3 separate regions of the Homo sapiens genome follow, and regions 2 and 3 are each linked to region 1. The links are contacts of gene promoters, found by promoter capture Hi-C in blood cells and fetal thymus (Javierre and others, 2016). All regions are on one chromosome and are shown on one strand. Each heading gives the region's core, a stretch centred on a gene start or on the middle of the fragment in contact. The rest is flanking DNA. Distances are from core to core; before and after follow the strand shown. Region 1 holds the start of AKAP9 (A-kinase anchoring protein 9). Region 2 has its middle 12 kb from the start of ERVW-1. Region 3 overlaps CDK14 (cyclin dependent kinase 14).

The links. Contacts are between HindIII fragments. The CHiCAGO score rates a contact against its expected background, and 5 or more counts as called.
Region 2: a contact is called between a fragment that was not itself captured here and the fragment with the promoter of AKAP9 in region 1, in 1 of 17 cell types (erythroblasts). The highest score is 5.1, in erythroblasts.
Region 3: a contact is called between a fragment that was not itself captured here and the fragment with the promoter of AKAP9 in region 1, in 1 of 17 cell types (monocytes). The highest score is 6.9, in monocytes.

What each region holds. Positions count from the first base shown.
Region 1 is chr7:91,939,223-91,942,448 of GRCh38, forward strand. It overlaps AKAP9 (A-kinase anchoring protein 9), which reads left to right and starts at 1,640. Exons shown (of 50, transcript NM_005751.5): 1 at 1,640-1,925. The coding sequence starts at 1,878. LOC124901698 (a long non-coding RNA gene) reads right to left here and starts at 1,629. Exons shown (of 2, transcript XR_007060431.1): 1 at 1,442-1,629; 2 at 628-1,342. RefSeq lists enhancers at 1,181-1,742, 1,781-1,930 and a silencer at 1,471-1,580. The HindIII fragment of the contact is 23,233 bases long and covers 1-3,226 here.
Region 2 is chr7:92,463,992-92,467,178 of GRCh38, forward strand. It overlaps a transcript of GATAD1 not described here. Among named protein-coding and RNA genes, the nearest start is that of ERVW-1, 12 kb to the right of the region's middle. The HindIII fragment of the contact is 1,612 bases long and covers 966-2,577 here.
Region 3 is chr7:91,049,847-91,053,319 of GRCh38, forward strand. All of the region lies in intron 11 of CDK14 (cyclin dependent kinase 14), which reads left to right. Among named protein-coding and RNA genes, the nearest start is that of FZD1, 210 kb to the right of the region's middle. RefSeq lists an enhancer at 1,105-1,164. The HindIII fragment of the contact is 1,182 bases long and covers 942-2,123 here.

The DNA of each region.
Region 1 (3,226 bases), core at 390-2,889:
GCAATCAGCATCTACACTCATAATCCCTCAATCCAGGCAGTATTTAAATCACTGCACTATTAGAACACTTAGTTCTAGTCCTTACTCTTAATTTGATGGGTGACTAAGTAAATCACTTATTGCCTCAATTCTTTCATCCCTATGATAAAATGTCTAATTTTACCTGGTTCCTAATTCAGGTTGAGATAACAGGACAATATGCACTTGGCTGTTAGAAGTTGGCAGAATGTATGCATTACGGAGCTTAAGAAAAAAATCTTTTTTAAAGCTAAGATTTCTAAATGAGGGCTATTTAAAACTCATCTTCAGTTTGTGGTAGACTTAAGGTCTTTATTATCTCCTTTTTTGTTTTTTAACCTCAATTTTTCACTTAACACCACTTCTACGCTTGAACTCATTTTAGCCTATTTTTTGTTCACAACTGCTAGTTTTTCAGTCCAACCTAGCTCAAAGCAACGGAGAAACATGATAAATCTGAGTAATCAACCAGAGACATTAAAATGTGTAGTTCACTCCAGGAATGGATGTGAGCATTGGAGGGCAGGGAGACGAACACAAAGGACTGAGGGAGCACATGTCGGGGAAACAAGGAAAGATAGTAATGTTAAATTTATAAACACTGCTCAATTCAATCCAAAAAGCGTTTATTGAGTGCAGAGCTCTGTGCTGGTCATTTTAGTAAAGCCAAGATGAGCAAGACTTATGATGAGTCTCTGTCATCAAGGAGCTGGGAGTATGAGCTGAACTAAGACGCACACAAATTATTAAAATATGGTGCAGGGTACTTAAAGGAAGTCCAAGGAGAAATAAAGCTGACATTATTCAGGACGTTTTAATATGTCAGGGCAGTCACATATATTAACAACCCTTCCAAAAATTCCAGGTAGGCTCAGGGAGGATAGGTAACTTGTCATTAACGCTAGAAAGTTAGTGTAGTCTGGCATTGTCCCTAACCGAGGTTCTAAAGCTCAGGCTCCTTTCAGAACACTACTGTTAAAGGGAAGCCCCAAAGAGTCGGGGGAGGGGACTAAGTTTTGACTGGATGTGTCTCGGTTGCCGTGGAGGGAACAAGAGGTCAGAAAAGCCATTTGGAGGCAGCGTGTGCGATGGGACTATAAGGATGAACCGGAGATTGAGTGGGAACCAGTGGAGGGAAGAGGGAGGGACTTTTCAGGCTAAGGAAGTAATAAGAGCAATTAGCTGCTCTCATAATTCTTGAGTCAAGCAGTTAATGTAGGTAGAAAACCTGGCGTCCGCCCCCCCACCACCCCCCACCGGAACTTTTCCGTTGGAGCTTGTAGGTGTTCGCCAATTTCACCATTAGGTGTGTTAGTTTTGTAACCTGAAGGAAAAAAAAAACTCATGTTTTAATAGCAGTGGATTCCTCGGACGGAGGGTGGGGGTCAGGCCAGGAGCCTCTGGCACACTCCGTCTCTCCTACCCCTCAGCTCGGCCGCCACCTGTGAGCCGTTGATGTGCGGGAAGGGCGCTCTCTACGGCGGGATCCTCGCTGGTAGGAGGCAGGTCCCAGGCCTGGCAAGGGTTGACCCCGGAGGGCTGGGCCGGGGCGGCACCCCAGGAGCACCTGCCCACGAGGCGGCTGCGCGGACAGACGTTCCAGCCCCTCCCGCCTCGCCGTGTGTTTACGTGGAGACGAAGATGGCGGCGGCGGCGGCGGTGACGGCGCTTCCCGTGCGGCTGAGGACGATCCGCCAGTGAGCGCGGAGACTGCTTCCACTTCGGGCGGGGGAGCGCCGGACCGAATCGGCTCTCTAGGCCGTGGAGCTTGCCGTCCCACCTCCGTCCAAATCGACCTTTCCTTTCTATCCCCAACCACCCCTCAACCCCTGTTTTCCCCTGCCTTCCTTGCAGAGGCCATGGAGGACGAGGAGAGACAGAAGAAGCTGGAGGCCGGCAAAGCCAAGGTAGGAGAGCCCGAGGCAACCGGGCCTGCGGTGGGAGGCGGTGGCTAGCACGGGGTGGGAGGGGGCCTGGGAAGCGGAGTTCGCCGCAGCCCCAGTGCACTGCCCGAGAGGGAGGTGCTGCAGGGTCTTAGGGTCTGCATCTCTCCTCGCCCTCCTCCTTTCCCCTTTTTCCAGTTGGGGGACAAAGCCTTGTGCTAGCTGATAATACTTCCGCGAGGATTGAATATTGTGGCTCCTTTCTCGTGAATGTCCAAATAAAACTCCCCTTTTACTGTATTGCTGTAAACTAGTGTTTAGTTGCTTCTAAACCTCCGATCTTTCATTTTTTTAAGGAGTTTTCTGGGTGGTGCAGGCATTGTGCTTTCCAGGGTGGGGATTTAGGGCTTTTCTTTATTGGGTTGGGGATTTGTGCGCTGATCATCAGCTTGTCTTCCTTAGGTAGCACGCTGGCACTCTTGGGTGTGTGTGATTGGCCTGTGACAGCTGTCTCAGCAGTGGCTTGTGTGTGCCACAAGTGCCAGCTGTGAACTTGGCTTTAGGGGCGTTTTTAGAAGCGTGTCTTTGTATGTTTGTACTTGAAGGTCTTTGTCATGGCATGCGCTTTTGTGTCCTATGGAATGTTAATGCAGTCTGTGAATGGAACTTCTGAGGACCGAAAGGTTCCATATGCCAACACCTATAGAATTCCTGCTTTAAATAATTTAGTTGTTATATATCTCTCTGGCGAATCCTGGTTGTGTGTGTGTGTGTGTGTGTGTGTGTGTGAACGGTTATGGAAAAGCCTGTAAAGCAAACAATACAATACACAATTATACACAGGCATCGTTCATTGGGCTTCATGAGAAATTTAACATATACAGAATATAAGCTGCGTAGCATATTTCTTTTAAAAATTACATATTTGAGCATATATTTTGTCTGGGCTCAAAAGCCCCCTTCCTCCCTTCAATGAAGTCTTCTTTTATGGATTATATTATTTTTAGAGATAATTGTTAGCAGTCATACTTGGACAAAAATTGTATTACAGGTAACTGTTTTTCCTCTCTTCCTTTCTCTTCTCCTCACATAAACAAAGGAAACCAGGTTAGTGATTTATTATCAATGAAGGGCCATACCGCAGAGATGCAGTGATAGAAGCTCAACACAAGTTTGTTAAATGAATATATATATAAAAACTAGCTTCATATTTCTAAAATATAGTTGACTTTCCTATAAGCTCCCTCTATTTAAGATCAAGGTTTAAATGCTTGTATATAGCCAGGTAAATTTTTACTTTCGAATCTATAAATGGTGGGAAAGGG
Region 2 (3,187 bases), core at 522-3,021, 520 kb after region 1:
TTTGTTATGCATATTTTACCATAATCTTTAAAAAATAGATATATAGGAGATAAAGTCAACAGAATTTAATAACCAGTTGTAAATAGAGACTGAGTGAGGAGGATGAATTAAGGAAGACATTGAGTACAACTTTTTGGTAGGTGAAAAACTCTTAAAAAAATACGTGGGCAAAGATCCTACTTGATTCTTATAATTTAAAAATCTCCCAGTTAGTAAACAAGGCTAGGTGGAGATTTGCATGTGATGTGAGGTGTGTGTTCTGTTTTGTAATGTGAGGACTGTGAGCCATCTCCTGGACTTGAATATCCATTAGATAATTGAAAATACGGATTTGAGAACTCAGGAGACGTGCAATGCAGTAACAAAACTCTGCACCTAGTTGATTTCTGTCTCCTAATTTAATGCTTTTATGGGACAAACTGTTAGGCAGGTGGGCAAGATGGACAGCCATATTTTTGTGGGTTTCTGGCCTGTGGGCCAGCCTCAGTGCTCACTCTGAGGTCATGTCCAAACTTAGAACACATTCAGGCCTACCACAGTCAAGGCTCCCTTTCTCAACTCTAGTCCTCTGCACAAATATCCGAAGCCTAGAAATAATAATCATCTGTCCTTGTGTCTTGCATTATGAAAGCCTAGGAAAGGGCCTTGGGAATTAAGAAGAATGGAAAAACTGGTCTAACTGCTGCATGCTTCAGCTTGCAGGGGAATCACTGAAATGGGGACAGGCCATAAAAGGACAACCAGAAGAGTGGCTTCAGCAAAGGCATCGTTTTTCAGAGCAAGCTAGAGAATCCTGCCAGCGTCCTCAGGCAGGGCCCCTGGGCACAGAGGTTAGGCAAGGGAGTGTCCCAGCATGTTGATGCCCTGAGCATCAGAATAATGCCATAGAGGAGCTTCCAAAGAGTTCATTTCAGGTTTTGTAAGCCGAACATTTCTAGGCAAATAAAATTTGATTTTGTGAATAAAGCTTGTTTCTTCAACTCCAGTGCAGATTCTCATAGATTGATAGTGGCTTGTGATCCAGATAAAGAAAACAATTTTTCAAAGATTCATATTCTTTGTAGATGTACGGATTTAGAGACCATCTAATCTAACTCCCTCATTCTACAGATAGGAAAAATGAGGCCTAAAGAAGTTAAGAAAATACCATGGAAATGTCACTGCTGAACTGCCATACGTAGGATCCGAAAGAAATTGGGTAAATGCTACTGTGAGAAATACAGTACTAGGTCCAAAGAATCTAATACAAATTAAAAATCTAAATGTTATTTCTAAAGCATCCCTGCACATGGCTGAACTTACATAGTTTCATTTTCTTTCTTTTCTGTTGAAGAAGAGGCAATTGGCTGGGTGCAGTGGCTCATGCCTGTAATCCTGGCACTTTGAGAGGCCGAGGCGGGTGGATCACCTGAGGTCAGGAGTTTGAGACCAGCCTGGCCAACATGGTGAAACCCCATCTCTACTAAAAATACAAAAATTAGCTGGCTGTGGTGGCCGCTGCCTGTAATCCCAGCTACTCCAGAGGCTGAGGCAGGAGAATTACTTGAATCTGGGAGGTGGAGGTTGCAGTGAGCCAAGATCACGCCATTGCACTCTAGCCTGGATGACAAGAGGGAAACTCCATCTCAAAAAAAAAAAGAAAAAAAGCAATCACTAACCTGTGTTGTTTATTAAACATGACAGACTGGCATGAAGTAATTACCAAACTGTAAACAAAAAAGCTACAATCTGCCAGGCATGGTGGCTCATGCCTGTAATCCCCCACCTTGGGAGGCCAGGTTGGGGGATCACCTGAGGCCTGGAGTTCAAGACTAGCCTGGTCAACATGGTGAAACCTCGTCTCTACTAAAAATACAAAAATTAGCCCGGCGTGGTGGCACATCCCTGTAATCCCAGTTACTCAGGAGGCTGAGGCAGGAGAATCACTTGAACCTGGGCAGTGGGGAGGTTGCAGTGAGCCAAGATCGCACCGTTGTACTCCAGTCTGGGCCGACAGAGTGAGACTCGGTCTCAAAAAAAAGAAAAAAGAAAAGCTACAACCTTAATCTCAACTTCTCATAACATCATCTCTACTTCTGATTAGAAGAGTGGAAGTGGGGAGGTTTATTACAAAAAGACTGTTATACCTTACACACTTCTCCCCATGAATAGTGAAGGTGTGAGTGAAAAAGACAGCAATTTTATTTTTTTTTTGAAACAGGTTCTTGCACTGTCACCCGGGCTGGAGTGCACTGTTGTGATCACTGCTCACTGCAGCCTCCACCTCCCAGGCTCAAGTGATCCTCCTACCTCAGCCTCCTGAGTAGCTGGGACCACAGTTGTGCACTACCATGCCCAGCTATTTTTTTTTAAGAGATGGGGTCTCACTATATTGCTTAGGCTAGTTCTCAAACTCCTGGCCTCAAGCAGTCCTCCGACCTTGGCCTCCCAAAGGGTTGTGATTACAGGCATAAGCCACCACACCCAGCCAGCAGTTTTAGAATAAAGGGTGAAGGTGCTGTTGGGGAAATATAATTTAAAAAACAAAATCTTCTCTCAACCCAGAAATCCTCTCCATGAAGGCAGTAGAGAAAGATAAGCTTTATTATTGAATAAAAATTAAATGAGAATGTGATGCACATCACAGGCACTTTGCTAAGAGATCACAAAGACAGAAGGAAATTTCACCATTTTGTACAGCCAAGCAGGTACAGCCCATTACATGTATGTTTTCGAGATAAATAGTCCTCAACTAAGAGAACTTGACAGCACCACTGGTCACACAGTTCATTCTAACTTTACCTGATAATTGATGTGACCACTTGTGTTATCTAAGATATCAACTTTTCGGGGGTGGGGGAGTGTGGAAACAGGAGTTACTTTTATAGCTTGGTGCAAGGTACTCATTAAGATTAGGCTGTTACCCTCCCACAGAAACTGGAAGATAGGTATGCTATCTGGTAATGTTTACATTTCCCAGATCCTTGAGAAAGACATTCCTAGGTCATAAAGCTGACAAAAGGCTGATTCAGTTTTTAAATATATATATCTGTATATGTATTTCAGGCTGGGCATGATGGCTCATGCTTTTAATCCCAGCACTTTGGGAGGCCAAGGCAGGTGGATCACCTGAGGTCAGGAGTTCGAAACCAGCCTGGCCAACATGATGAAACCCATTTCTACTAAAAATACAAAAAAATTAGCCAGG
Region 3 (3,473 bases), core at 283-2,782, 890 kb before region 1:
ATAGTAAGTGAAATATATCATATATTGGGTGGTGATAAGTACTGTGGAGGAAAATAGAGCAAGAAACTGGTTCAGGAAGTTCTGAGAAAGGGGAGGGGGTGATTTACAGTTTAAATAGGGTAATCAAGGAAGGCCTCCCTGAAAAGAAGACATTTGACTGAAGAATATGAGAGACAGAGCCAAGAAGATATTTGAGGGAAGAACTCTTCAGGCAGAGACAAGAGCAAGTACCAATGCCCTGAATGGGGAGGAGTGGAGGGCTGATAATGAAGTCATAGACGACGTGGGGCCTTGAGGGATACCCTGAGTCCTTTACCATTGATCTGAGTGAGATAGAAAGCTCTAGAAGATTTTGAACAAGGCAGCACAGGAGCTGGTTTATGTTTTAGTAAGACCACCCCAGCTATTATACTGAGAATTGGGGGCCAGAGAAGAAGCAGGGGGACCCCTTAGGAGGCTATAACAGGAATCCAGGGGAGAGGCGATGAAATGTACTGTGAATAAAATGACCTCCCTTTTTCAATTCCTATGATTATCCCAGAACTCAACATGGTTTTCCCTTGGAAAAAAAAAATATATAACAAAAATGGAGAAACATTTTTAAAATAATTATTGAAATAGTGAAAGAACAATTAGTTAAAAACTGAACTTTATTCTTTACTATATAACCTGTATATCTTCTTCTGTGCTTACACAAAACTTAAGCTCAGCATATTCCCATAGCAACCAGGCAACTACAACAGGTCACAATGGTATTATATATTATAAAGTATGTGCATGTTACATACAATAAGGAGTCTGTGTAAGTCTCATTTGTGTTGCTATAAAGGAATTCATGAGACTAAGTAATTTACAAAGAAAAGAGATTCAGTTGGCTCCAGGATCTGCAGGCTGTACAAGAAGCATGACACCAGCATCTGCTTCTGGTGGGGGCCTCAAGAAGCTTCCAATCAGGAGAAGGTGAAGGGGGAGCATGCATGTCACATGGTAAAAGAGGGAGCGAAAGAGAAGAGAGGACTTCCCTAAAGTTAGTGTCAGAGGTGAAAGTAGATCCCATGTCTCCGTGGGTCTTAGTTGAGTGTGCTTTTGCTTTTACTTTTGTTTTCCAGCCTCCATTATGAAATAGCATTCTACTGAATGTGCATCACAATTTCTCATTGTCCTTCTAAAGAACAGTTTACTGGCAATTAGACTATTTTAAAAAGCAGAAAAGTAGAGAAGATCTGATCTCTGGGAAAATATGTACAGTAATACACACAAATATTAAAATATTACACCAATACAAGGCTCTTTTTAACAACCAGATCTCTCACCTGAATTAATAGAGCAAGAACTCACTCATTATCCTGGAGAAGACACTGAGTTATTCATGAGGGATCTGCCCCTATGACCCAAACACTTCCCACCAGGCCTCACCTCCAACATTGGGGATCACATTTCAACATGAGATTTGGAAGGGACAGACATCCAAACTATATCAGAGTCTAACCTTGGAAGCTGCTATTTTTCCATCATTTACTTCTATTTAAATTTCTCTTAAAAGAAATGGAAAATGGGCTTGTTTCTTTTTTGAACCTGATTACCTTCCTGTTTCTTTTCCCTTACCCTCAGGGTTCTGTGGTTAATGGTCTTTTAAAAGTAGGTCTCCTTGTGTCTCCCTCACTCTCTCATTCCAGAGTGTTTCCTTTTGTCACTGTGTTCAGGATACTTGCTGTGGGAAAGTCTTGAGGTGAGAGATTGTGCTGTGGTGTTCTCAGTATTTCAGTAATTCCATAACTTGGTGTGAGATTCATCACAGGCAAACCCATGCTCTAACACAAAGTGAGAGTCCACTGTAAAAATAAATCATATTCCTTTTCATGGGTTCATAGTTATTCACTAACAGGAGGCTTTTGCATAAGGCTCTCTGCTATAAATTCCTCCTGGGATAATGAGAGGCTCCCCTATGTGAATCCCAGGATCACTTTCTTCTACCAGGTTTACCCCCTGCTACATCCCATCGACAGGTGCTGTGGTTCATATGTCTCTGCTAAAGTGACAGTGCAATTTTTTTGTTGCTGTTATAAGACAGACTTATCATTTTTAAAAGATGCATCTTGCATGCATGTTTGAGGGGTTGTTTAAGCTTCATAGAATTGTGGTAACCCCAGATCAGGGCGGAATACACGTAGACATTTGAGGTTCTCCAGACCAGTAGAATCAGAGTAATGGATGAAGAGTTCTGTCAAGGCTTTGTAATTTCTAGCTGTCAAAGAGTACCCTGGGGCTGCATGAGCTGAGAGTGCGAGTGGTGTTTGATTGTGCCTTAAGCAAAGTGAATGTTTGAGCTAGAGGGAACCCCAGGGAGCATCTAGTCTGGCTTTCTTCTTGTGAAGTTAGGAACCTGAGGTCCAGAGATGTTAAAGAACTTCCCTAACATTAGTGTCAGAGGTGGAAGTAGATTCCAGGTCTCCCTGGGTCTCACTTCCTGAGTGTGTTTGTGTTTTTGTTTTCCAGCTTTCATTATGAAATAGCATTCTACTGAATGTGTATTACAATTTCTCATTGCCCTGCTAAAGAACAGTTTACTGACAATTAGACTATTTTAAAAAGCAGAGAAGTAGGGAGGATCTGATCTCTGTATTTGGTAAAATATCTACACAAAACCACCAATAACACTTCGTATAAAATGGTTTAGCACTGAAATAATGTGTAGATTCCATGTATGATACTTTCATCTCTCAAATGCTTCCAACAAAAGGGAAAGGTACATTCAAAAACTATTTAATGGATTATTCAGATGCTCAAAAAGGAATACACTGTGAAGTTCAGTGAGGAAAAAAATGCTGCTAGACCAGAAGCAATTAAAAGTGATGAAATTTAGAATAAAATAATTATATTTTCCAAAATCAAGCAAGAGAATAGAGCATTTCTAAAGTGGTTATATTACTTCTAAGGAAAAGTTAGCCAATGGAAAAGACTATTTGATTCAGGAAACTTTGAAGAAAATGGACTGTCTCCCAACGAATGAAATAATATAAAGAATTTGCCATTGGAGGCAATTGGGGAATGGTGATATTTTAAACACACTCTGCTAAAAACTAATCCTACAGACACATTGACCTTAAAGGGAATGTTTACATACGGACTTAGCTGTATCAAGGCTTTGTAATGAGGCAAAAAAAAAAGCCGTCTCTTTAAGTCCTTCCTCTTCTCTGGCCTGACTGGGACCCCAAAACCAAACAGGTCCACACTTTTTTGTTCCAGAGGGAGGAAGTAAATCATTTCAGAAATAAAATACTATGGTGATAACACCTTACGTTTTATGCTATATTTTATTATTTACAAAGCATTTTAATATATTATCTCATTTGATAGTTAGAATAACTGCATTATAATAATGCTTTTTTCCTAATATTGTTATCCCATTTACAGATGAAGAAACTGGGAAATTGAGGCTCAGAGAGATAGTGTGGTTTGCCCAGAGATCTCAT